Linked DNA regions of Homo sapiens: region 2 is linked to region 1. Evidence: promoter capture Hi-C in human tissues and cell types (Jung and others, 2019). All regions are on one chromosome and are shown on one strand. Each heading gives the region's core, a stretch centred on a gene start or on the middle of the fragment in contact. The rest is flanking DNA. Distances are from core to core; before and after follow the strand shown. Region 1 holds the start of FAM149A (family with sequence similarity 149 member A). Region 2 overlaps SORBS2 (sorbin and SH3 domain containing 2).

Region 1 (5,850 bases), core at 3,351-5,850:
ATATGCTTGCTAATAACTATGACTTATACAAGCTATAAATACTTCCTGACTAGAAGTTTACACTCTACCAACATTCATACACAGCAATTATCTATCTATCCACCTTACGTATTGCTAGGAATTCTTACATTTGCAGAACAAATAAGAGAATAAGACCGGCCGGGCGCGGTGGCTCAAGCCTGTAATCCCAGCACTTCGGGAGGCCGAGGCGGGCAAATTACAAGGTCAGGAGATCGAGACCATCCTGGCTAACATGGTGAAACCCCTTCTCTACTAAAAATACAAAAAATTAGCCGGGCGTGGTGGCAGGCACCTGCAGTCCCAGCTACTCGGGAGGCTGAGGCAGGAGAATGGCGTGAACCCAGGAGGCGGAGCTTGCAGTGAGCCGAGATCGCGCCACTGCACTCCAGCCTGGGCGACAGAGCAAGACTCCGTCTCAAAAAAAAAAAAAAACCAGAGATTGAGAATAAGACCTTTACAAGGTGTATTGTGTGGTTCAAACCAGAAGTATGAAAAGAGGTAATGAAGAGGGATGAGTGAGACTGAAAAACACTGAGGCATAATATATACATGAAATGGACAGGGAAGCCAAGGTGAAGATCAAAGGTGTTGGATCACGTATCCAGGGATGCAGGAAAGTGAGGTGAAGACAGAGAGATCAGTATCCTCTGCCTCTGGCTCAGATGTGCAGTCAGTACGCCCTGTGGAGCAAAAGGGGCAGCCTCTGTTCCATGGGCCTTTCACTTACGGAATTCTTGGGTCAGAGATTAAAAACCCCTGCTGCTATTCAGCATCTTTGCTTGGAAAAAAGCCTCTAAATTGCAGGAGAGTTTGCATATTTTCCTACTCAAGTTAATTTCACTACTTTTAGTTTTTTGTTTTTTTTTTTTAAAGCCAAGTACAGAATCAGGCAAATGTAAAATGTATGCGTTATTGTCAAAAAAGTACAAACTGCTAATAGGGTTTTCCTTTAGAACTCAGGGCCACAGCTTTAAAATTAGATCCGCATTTCTTGCAGACAGGTTTACGGTTTCCTTTATATGTATTCACATTCTCATCACTCTTTAAACTTTTTCTCTGACATTACCCATTTCTCCCTTTCCAAGTTTCCAGGCTTTTGAAATTTAAATTCCTGATTTTAATATTAACCACACAGGCTAACAGCAGCAGCTATCTGCCAAGTGACAGATGAGATGGTAGGAGCAAATTTAAATTCATTGTCTTATGTTTGTTTATTCGGTGTTATAAATCACTACCACAGAAATCCAGGAGGGAAAAAGAATCCTTCAAGGTGCAAAGTCTGCAGTATTGAAAGAAAAGCCGTCTTAATACTTTCTTCCTTCCCCTTTGTCTCTTATGTTTTAGTGATTGAAAAAGGAGTGGGGTATGATGAGAGGAAGGGAATGTGAGTAGTCGTGGATCTGAAAGGAAAAATGGTATGCTCAGAGGGCCAGTCTGCTTCCTGCCTGTGTGTGCCTCTACCTGCTGCTGCAGACAGTAGGAACACACAAACTCAGGAGGATTCTGCAAAGCACCTAGCTGTGTATATTACTTCTCATGGCACTTACCTAAAATTCAATTTCATGGCCAGATGCAGTGGCTCATGCCTGTAATCCCAGCAATGCCCAGGTGGGAAGATTGCTTGAGGCCAGGAGTTCAAGACCAGCCTGGGCAACATAGGGAGACCCCGTCTCCACAGAAACATTTTTAAAATTGGCCAGGCATAGTAGCTCACACCTGTAGTCCCAGCTACTCGAGAGTCTGAGACGGGAGAATCAGATCGCTTGAGCCTGGGAGGTTGAGGCTGCAATGAACAGTGATCATACCACTGCACTCCAACCTGGGTGACAGAAGGAGACCTCATCTCAAAAAGTAATAATAATTTAAAAATTCAATTTCTTCACTGTCCATAAAATTGAATGCATTTGTTAATTCAGAATAATCTCTTATGTAAATAATGCCAAATGCAGTGTTATTCAAAAAGTATCTATTCCAAATATTTGCACAATATAAACATGAGCTAATATGTTCAAGAATTGAAACTAACACCAGTTTCACTGGCCATGCTGCATATTTCAGTGCCTATTTGTTAAAAGCACTAAGACTAGAGTTTAAGGTCAGTGTGTAGATCTGTTTGCTCATAAAACATTAATTGCATAAATGTTAAGGACCAGTTGCCAATAACAAAGATCTAATTCCTCAGGCATATGTATTCCAGTGAGTTTTCCAAAAGCAATTAACTGATAGGGAAAACTATCAGTTGATAAACATATGTCATAATATAGTATTTTTTAATGAGTGGGAACAACTTTTTGCTTAACTGCTTATTTTCTTTTTTGTTGTTGTTTTTTTGAGACGGAGTCTCTCTCTCTGTCGCCCAGGTTGGAGCGCAATGGTGCGATCTTGGCTCACTGCAAGCTCCGCCTCCCGGGTTCACGCCATCATCCTCTTGCCTCAGCCTTCCGAGTAGCTGGGACTACAGGCACGTACCACCACGCCCGGCTAATTTTTTGTATTTTTAGTAGAGACGGGGTTTCATCGTGTTAGCCAGGATGGTCTCGATCTCCTGACCTCATGATCCGCCCGCCTCGGCCTCCCAAAGTGCTGGGATTACAGGCGTGAGCCACCGTGCCCGGCCGCTTGTTTTCATATTGACATGAATATCATTCAATTTTGTGAAACTGTAATTATTTAAATTGTGAGTGAGTCAGGATCAGTATGAATGCAAAAATTACTCAGGATTTTTTGGAGGGAGTAGGGAATGGCCTCACTAGATTACAATGCAGAAACCTCAGTCTGTGAATTGGCTCATCTGTCTTTGACCATTTCACTATTTCTTTGCAGCATTCAGGATGAAAATTTACCCACTCAAGAATAGCTAACGATATGCTCCACTCTAAAAATTAAAATTCATCCTAGTTCTAAAACACATTTTAAAAGAGCAATGTTTTTATCACGACTCTTGGAAGTGAAAGGGGTGTTGTGTGGGTGTGTGTGTGTTGAGGGAATCGGCCTCCGATTCCCAGTGAAAATGTTCCCATGAAGTCAACGTTTCTGCAGTGACTCAGGGCACTGTGGAAAGCTCTCAGGAGCTCTAGGGTAATAATCAGACGTGTCCTGGCCATTACAACTCCATTTGTGTCAGATGATGTCATGCATATGTAAATTAACTAGATGTCACACAAAGGAGACCCATCCCACTTAGGATAAGACTAGGGACTGGTCCTTAGACATTAGGAAAGCACCAGGTCTCACCACTTCTTAAAACACTTGCTGCAGACGTGTGTATTCGGTTTCCCTGCACACCTGCTATATTCTGAGACAAAGAAAGGGACTTCAAAAAGTCCTTAAGAAAACCAAACAAACACTCTAAGTAGCAATGCTTCTGGTAGAAGAGAAACAAAATTCTGTCCCTTCCTTCAAGGCCCCTTAGGATTCACTCTGAGAAAGCTGGACAAAGCATGTCACAGCTTATGTCTGAAAGCCCGCAAAGCCAAGGAGTAAAAACCCAGGAAACGTGCAAGGAGGGTGCCCAGGGGGTTATGAAAGTTACTACAAATATTTCATTTCCTGAAGTGCACCTGCGAAGGTGAGTGCGGCAGGCGGAGGGGTCGGGGGTCCCGGCAAAAGGTACACGCGCCCGGACCACGCTGCTACTCACGCTTCGCCATCCCCGGAGTCGCCGTCCGAGGCCCCCTCCTCGCCGATGTCAGGCAGCGTAAGGAACAGGGTTCTGGGGCCAGCCCCGGGGGCCACGCAGGCGCCGAGCTCTCGCTCTCCGGGGCCAGGCTGGAGCGGGTTCCTGGGGAGCGCGGCCCAGACCCCGCCGGGGCCCGAGGGCGGCCGCGCTGGGACCACCAGGCGAGCAGGGGAGCAGCCCCCGCCGGAGGGAGTGGGGGGCTGGGGCGGGGCTTTACCCGCTCTAGGGCTACTGGGCCAAGAGAGCAGGGTCCCCACTGCTCCCGCGGCGCGGCTGGCGGCGGAGCCCCGGGAGTAGGGGGAGGAGAGCAGCGGGGCGGGCGACCGCCGCGAGGCGGAGGGGGAGTCCGGAGCCAGGGCGCGGAGGAGGGTCGGGGCGGTACCCAACGGGGTGCCCGCCCTGGAGCCCCCCGACCCTGCAGCGGCAGCACCTCCCGAGGGTCTGGAGGAGGGGCCTGCGGGGGGCGCCGTCGAGGTCTCGAAGAGTTTGGCCAAGAGAGACCCAAGGTCCAGCACAGCAGCCTTCATGCCTCGACAGTGGACACGCCGTCCTCGCCGCCGCCCGAGAGTTCAGACCGCGGAGATCCGGCCGAGGCGGCCCGGGCCGGGGCGAGGAGCCTGAGGTCCCCGCACCCGGAGCCCCGGAGGCCCCTGGCTCCCTCTCCTCCCCGAGGACGCTCAGCTCCGCGCCGCTGGGGTCGCCCTTCCCCGGCCCGGGTCCGTCCGCCGAGCGCCCCGGCTGCGGAGAGCAGCCCCGCCTCGTCCCAGCGCCGTGAGACCCCCGAGGGCCGAAGGGCCAGGAGCCCCGGGAAGCGCGGCCGCCGCCCGCCCCAGACGCCCGCCGCCCGCCGCCCGCCGCCCGCGGTTGCTACGTTCAACACACCCGGCCGCGCTCCAGGCTAATTGGGCCCCAGGTGCGGCTCGGGCTGTGCCCGCGGGGGACGTCCCACTCCCCGCCTGGTTCCGCCTTAAAGGAACACGCCCCCATTTCCCCTGCGCCCCGAGCCTCGCAGATCCCATCCGCCGAGCTCAGGGCCCAGGGCTGGGAAAGAGAATCCTGGCTCCAGAAGGTTCTGGAACTTACCCAGCCTGACAAGCTTGCACGTGCTGGGGTCAGGCCACCTCTCTGACGATAGGGAAGGTGGGTAGAAAGATGTATTTGGGCGAACGAGCTTGAAACAGCAGCATCCACTCCCCCACCCCAGGGTCCTACTCAAACCCTGTTACTAAGGGTGGGGTGGGAGCAACCGCGAGGTGCGCCACCCACTAACCTGCAAACAAGACCGGCTCTGAGAGCTGAAGTAGAAAGACCTACGCACACCTGTTTAAACACCTGTCGGAGTGAACCAAGAGACTGTGTAATTCAAATGTTTGAGAACTCAAATTATAATCGGAACGACTACAAATTCAAAGACAGATATGGAAGGCAACGTTTTCTATTCAGTGGAATAAATTGTATTTTGCTTAATCTGAAAAATATGTGTGAAAGGTAGAGCGTATAGGTGCGAGCATCTAAAGGGGTGTGGGGTCAGTGTTGAACAGAGTTAAAAAATAAGATACTGCAGCCAGGCTCGGTGGCTCATACCTGTAATCCCAGCACCGGGATTGGGAGGTGGGAGGATGGCTTGAGCCCAGGAGTTCCAGGCCAGCCTGGGCAACAACATAGGGAGACCCCATCTCTACAAATATTTAAAAAAAAAAAAAATGCCGGGCCTGGTGGCGCATGCCTGTAGTCCCAGGTACTCGGGAGGCTGAGGTGATCGCTTGGGCCTGGAGTGAGCCGTGATCGCACCACTGCATTCCAGCCTGGGCAGTAGAGTGAGACCCTGTGTCAAAAAAATAGTAATGAGATATTGATGGAGTTTGTCCATTAATATTCAGGAGAGGATCTCAGGAGATACATTTCCTGATGTGGGGTAGGGAAAAGAGATGAATTAAGTCTGGCAGTGAATAAACTGACATTCATGCTTATATACTTGAATCTTTTGTAAGTTATCAAACTGGAGTCTGAGCCACGGTAAACTTCCAGGTAATGCTAAGTTTTGCGTTATTTGGAGGCAGTTAACAAGTCTTCTGTCATGATCCCTTTTCTACATCTAACTGCCACCAACATGTACTGGGCACTTGTCTGCTTCAAGATTGCATTAAGCA
Region 2 (5,850 bases), core at 960-3,459, 460 kb after region 1:
CAGTTCCATCCCTTGTTTTCCATATTGGCTTTTTAATATTTCTTTGGATGAAGGGAGAATTTTCCAAATGCCCTTTTCATAACAAGTTGTTTTAATTGCTTCTTATTAAATCCCTCCTCAGGTTACCAAGCCTCAAGCTTCCTGATTGATTGTCATTCTAATGGATCAAGATTATATTTCACTTTGCAGGATTTTTTCCAATTATTTAATTATATGCAAACAAAAATATCTATACACTTAAGAAGAACCACTTGCCTCCTCGAAGCGCAGGTTCACACATAGGTCTTCCCTTGGCCTTCTTTGGTTTTGATTCCCCAATACTCCCTTGCATGTCCTTTGCTTCCCCTCAGAAATCAGTGTCCTCAGGATTTTCTTTGAAACTCCACAGTTCCTCTGCATCTCCTTCCAAGCCTACTTCTAGGAAAACATTTGCAATCAATTGCAATTTACTCTCATTTTTGCTTTAAAAGAATTTTAGGTGTCAGTGAACAGGAAAAAGAGAGTTTTCTTTGTGGAGCTCCTTCAAGAGTCTCCAAGAAATCACACTCATATATAATCCAAGGCCAGCCCTGTGGTTTAATTGGAAACTCTAGCCTTGCCACACCCAACATGAGTGTCCTTGATTGAGTCTTTGAAACCCTGTGTTTGCGGTTGTGTTCTGGAGAAGCATGTTCAAAACCTTATCATCAGATAATTCATACATGATATTTGTCTAAGCCTTCTTACCCTTTCTTTAAATAACTCATATCTTTTAGAGTAACAGGACTACAAAAGAAAAACTGAAAGAAAAAAAAAATCACTGATTTGCAGGCACCATTGCAAACTTGTAACCCATTTACTAGTTTCTGTGATTGAGTATCATGCTACTCTGAAATTTCCAGAATGAGAATTGAGTGAAACACAATGTCATCATTGCAGAAAATTGAAAACAGTGAAATAATATATCTCAGATTTAAATTAAATAACAAAATTTTAATGATCTTTCTAGTAATTTATGAGACTCTTAGGATAACGAACATGGTAATGGTATTGGAATGCTTTGGTAGCCGTGGTGTCAGGAAACAGGATTGGTTTTAGACGCTCTCCCACCACGATGTTTCTATTATTTAGTCATTCAGTAAAACTGACTGAGCACCAGCTACATGCCAGGCTTTATGTGAGGTGCACAGCGGGGAACAGGACACACTCTCTACCTTGAGGAACTTCAAGTCTATCATTTAATATCTATGCAAGACTAGATCTGAGTTTGTGCAAAGTAAACAGCCTCTTATATGGTTAAAACAGACGCACACCTAAAAAACCCTCCCTTTGCTCCCTTTAGGGTTTATACATTGACCCTATCATTGTTATTGAAATTGTCACATTACTCTTGTCTTTGGGTTAAAAAAGACTTTAAAGACTCCTCGTTTTACAATAGCAATAATAATAGCAATAGCAATCATTGTAAATCTTTATTGAGCACTCACTATATGCCAGGCGCTGTAATTAGTAATTTATGCCTTATCTCATGTAAAGTTTCCAGCAGCCCTATTAAGCAGACACATGGCATTTCCATGTTACAGATGAAGAGACTGAAACACACATTAGCTCGCCTTGCCCCAGGGACACATGGTGGGAGCCAGAACTAGGAGTTGAGCCCAGGCATACTGATGCCTGGTGCACTTGGTCGCTGCTGTACAGCCACTCCAGGTGTGGCTGAGCAGGAAACACATTGAAGTAGCAGTTATTTGATTCCCTTATTTGATGATTTTGCAGTATAAATTAATTTATTTATTGGCTAATTTACAATAAAGTATACTTGATTTACTTTATCAGAAACTTAGGCCCTAAGTAGTTACCACACAGGACCAGTAGATGTGACTGGTTGTAAGACAGGAAACTCTGGAGCCATGAGTGTGACAGAGATTCGAGTGTGGATAGGTCTCTGCAGCCACAGGAGAAGATAAGTAGAAGGAACTTAGAAACTTGGAAGGAAGTGAGAATGGCTATCTTATGGAGAAATAGAAAGAACCAAAAATGTTAACCCTCCTAAACAATTTTGGAGAGGACCAGCCTTAAGCAGAATGGTTTGAGCTGGCCATATGGGACATGTTGGCCAGCCTTTCCAGTGTAGGACCAGCTCATCATCTTTTTAAAAAAATTAGTCCTGACTTCGTTTCAATTGCCTCTATAAATTAGAAAACAAAAAGAGCCAAGTGGGCCGTGGTGATGTAGAGACTGGCCGCGTACTGATATAGTTTACATAAGATTCTGAAGTGTTGAAAATACAGGCTAGAGGTTGAAGAGCAGGCGTGCTGAATGAGAGTGGCGTCGCAGCGATGGCCAGCGCTGAGGGGTATCAAGGTCTTATTCATGCATTCTCATGTCTTTTGACTCCAAGATGCCTTGGAAGCATTCCTTTGCTCTTTTCATTTTCAATTTTTGAAAAATATACACAACACCTGGGCAATTCTGTGTTGCTCTTTTGAATCTCTACATGGCCTCTCCATCTGCCCACTTTTCCAAAGGGTCATCTTGGGTTTTCCCCTCTCCTGCAGTGGACTCAGTGTCGCCTGCCAGGAGAAGTGCCACTGCTGCTCCTCTCTTCTGGCCCACAATTGTCCGTGCCTGGGCTACAGTGACAGCCACCTGATTCATTTCCCTACCTCTCCAGTCTAGTCTCCACACCACAGCGAAGGCAATCTTTAGAAAATCTTTATAAAACCTCCAGCTCAAAATTTTCTCTGGCTCTTCACTGTCCTTCGAGCAAAATCTGAAACCCTGAGCATAATTTATAGAAGACCTGTGACTGGGCTCCAGCTGACCTCTCCAGCCTCATCTCTCCTCCCACCCTCCCTGCCTCGCTAGGTTCCAGCTGCACAGAGAACTTTCAATTCCCGCATTGCTGGGCCTCTGTAAAGGCTGCACCTCCCCACCAGGAAAAGCTCTCCCCACCACCTCTTCCTTCACATGGAGAATTCTATCCCATCCTCCAGGTCCCAGCACAGTCCCACCTCCCCCAGGGAATGTGCCTGACTCCTCTGCATTAGGTTGGAGGCTCTCCCTGCTGTGTGCCCATGGCACACTGTGTTCCTCATGAGATCTTGAGCTTCTTGAAGGCGAGGGCTGTGACTGGTCCACCAGTTGTATCCCAACACCTGGGACGATGCCTGGCCTGTAGCAGGTGTTCAGTGAATATGCATTCGTGGAATTTCTAAGTGAATGAAGGAACACAGGTTTCACCCTTGCAGTCAGTGGAAAAAGTTGGTGAGGGACTGAATCCTTGTTCTGTTGTTTATCCATGAAGCCTATATATTTCTAGTGCAAAAGGCCCAGTGGGTCTCAAAACATTCTTGGAGGGGTTTGACACACTGCTATTAGTAGTGACTCATAATTCCACGATTCCCTGGGATACAGAGAAGGCAGGGGGGTAGTACTGTTTGAACAAAAATCTTCCCAAGACCCTGGCAAAGAGATCTTCCTTAGGAATCAGTGGCATATGCGTTTATGTTCTTTAACAGGGAAAGTAAAAGTGAGCGCACTTTTTTGAAGCTCATAAATACTCATGTGACTGTAAATTTAGAAATGTTAATTAATTGGGCCTAATGTTTGATCTGGAAAAGTACTTAGCAGTCACCAGGAATTTGCCTTGAACTGACTCGAACCACAAATCAGAACCGTATTTCCACAATTTAATTTTTCCATGAGACAATCATAAAAACTCTGCTGGGATTATATTACTAAAACCTTTATATCCCATTGCATTGGATATGTTTGTAGGTGAGTAATGTTAAATTTAAAAAAAAAAATTAATAAAGCATTTGTTTAGGACCTCTGTATGCTTGATAAAGTAAAAAAAAAATATATGAAAATGTTACCCTAACCTACAATAACTAAACTTGAACATAATGATAAAAGCAGAAGAAAATAGTCATTGAAAACACTGTAGCAGAGTTGAAATGCAACTTAAACCCTTAATGAACTTAAGCTTCTTTATCAATAAAGATTGTCAGTCAATACTTAACTATAAAAATTTAAGGAGTTTCATCTGATGACCATTAAGAATTATCCCAACTAATAATGTATATAGCATTTATTGTGAAACCACAATAAATATAAAACACGGTAGTCAATGTCATTAAAACTTAAAATGGAATGAGCGTAATTTGAAAAACAAAATAGCCCTGGCACTTCTTTTTGTTTAGAACAACGTATAGAAAGCACATGCCTCACTGAGAATACTTAGTGGAATCTCGATAACCACAAAAGCAATTAAATGCTTTTAAATTATAGAAAACACTAAAATTTTTAAAGTTGTTCACCCTTGGTAGCTTTTAAGTAAGGATCACTTGTGATTTATAGTTGTAGCTTTTCTTGAACACGTCCTCTTGCACTGATGACTAACAAAGTTAGTTTTAAACGGAGGTTTGCTGGTGGGTTTTTTTTTTTTTTTAATGAAAAGAAACAACAACAAAAAAATCACACCAAGGCTAGAAAGATGCATATCAGTATCTTTGCTCTTTTGCCTTTTATGAGCAATTAGAGTAAACCATAATCATACCTCCTAAATGAGTTTCTGAGTGTTAATATTAGTGCTGTACTCAAAGGAATGTCCATGTTCCACATGGAAAGTGTTAAATTACTGAGATTAGTGATTTGTGTGTATATCCATCTGTTGACTGACCATCTGTATGTGTGTCACTGACTGTTGCGAGGCTTCTGTGTTCCTTAGCAGTGCCTCCAGGTCACCATAGGACATTTAATTATTGCATGACTTAAAAGATTCAATACGGCAACCACAGCAAAGAGAAAATTCTAGTTCTGCCACTAACACTTCCTTTAACACAACTCTGCTCAAACATGTGCCTTTCATTGCATTCCAAAGTTATCGATAATTACCAGCTATCATTGTTTTGGGTGTTTTCTCTGCTAATTTCTATTGGCATGCATTCTAGATAGTTGCCCATTGTAACTATAAATTGACTATTTAAATAAACAAAAGCATAATTCATGGAAAACTGCCATTCTAAGGTATGATGCAAGATGGTAGATATTCTGCTTCCTTTTCCATATTCTATCATAGAGATGCATTACTATAAATCAGGACTTGGTATATCCATTTGTTACATATTTTCTTAATGTGGGAGTCAAAGTGAAGCTACATAGCTAACAAGTCTTATTCATTTAGTAAGTTGGCTGCCCTCTGCTGTTCATAATGTTTCTTAAACAGATTCGTTTCCTCTAAGAGAAGTTTCTATCTCCCCTTGGCAAAACAAAATACTATTCTTGAAAACAGAAGTTATAATAATTAATGATATCATTCAGTGTGTAACATTAGAAACTATGAAGTTTAAAAGAGTCAGAGGTTAGTTTTCCTGTAGAAGAAATAGTATGTCTCTCTAAACAGAAGAGAAATTACTGGAAATTCTCTCTCCTGTCAGTTACCCTAAAAACCAGCTCCAGCAAAGCCATTTCACGAACAATTATGCATCTATAATGATCTAAATAATAATTGGAGAAAAATAGTATTTTATGGACATTAAAATCTCAATTAATACTATTGCAACTATTGAATCAAATATAAATTGAATTAAATTTTTAAATTCAACAGAAAATAGCAAATTGGTTACTAGAATATTTTGTCTCTACCAATTTCACTATTACTTCTGAGGTGTAAACCAAATATAATACTGGCATAAAGAAGGAAAAATATCTCAAGATTTCTAGGCATTTTCCTATGTCTAATAGTAGGATGTTCTCTCTGAATTTATTTATTACAAAAATAACATTACAACAATAAAGCAAAATAATATTTAAAAGAAAGAAAAAACAAACAGTCGCAATACCAGAACACCATTGTAGTCGTTTGTG

What was found. Contacts are between HindIII fragments. The study calls those that stand out against the background at their distance.
Region 2: a contact is called between a fragment that was not itself captured here and the fragment with the promoter of FAM149A in region 1, in 4 of the 25 tissues and cell types used here (bladder, dorsolateral prefrontal cortex, ovary and 1 more).

What each region holds. Positions count from the first base shown.
Region 1 is chr4:186,103,454-186,109,303 of GRCh38, reverse strand. It overlaps FAM149A (family with sequence similarity 149 member A), which reads right to left and starts at 4,600. Exons shown (of 14, transcript NM_001395294.1): 1 at 3,662-4,600. The coding sequence starts at 4,227. It overlaps LOC124900171 (a long non-coding RNA gene), which reads right to left and starts at 1,610. Exons shown (of 2, transcript XR_007058421.1): 1 at 1,569-1,610. RefSeq lists a silencer at 4,621-4,680. The HindIII fragment of the contact is 14,554 bases long and covers 667-5,850 here.
Region 2 is chr4:185,640,343-185,646,192 of GRCh38, reverse strand. The region is part of intron 13 of SORBS2 (sorbin and SH3 domain containing 2); the gene reads left to right. Among named protein-coding and RNA genes, the nearest start is that of SORBS2-AS1, 55 kb to the right of the region's middle. The HindIII fragment of the contact is 5,438 bases long and covers 1-4,928 here.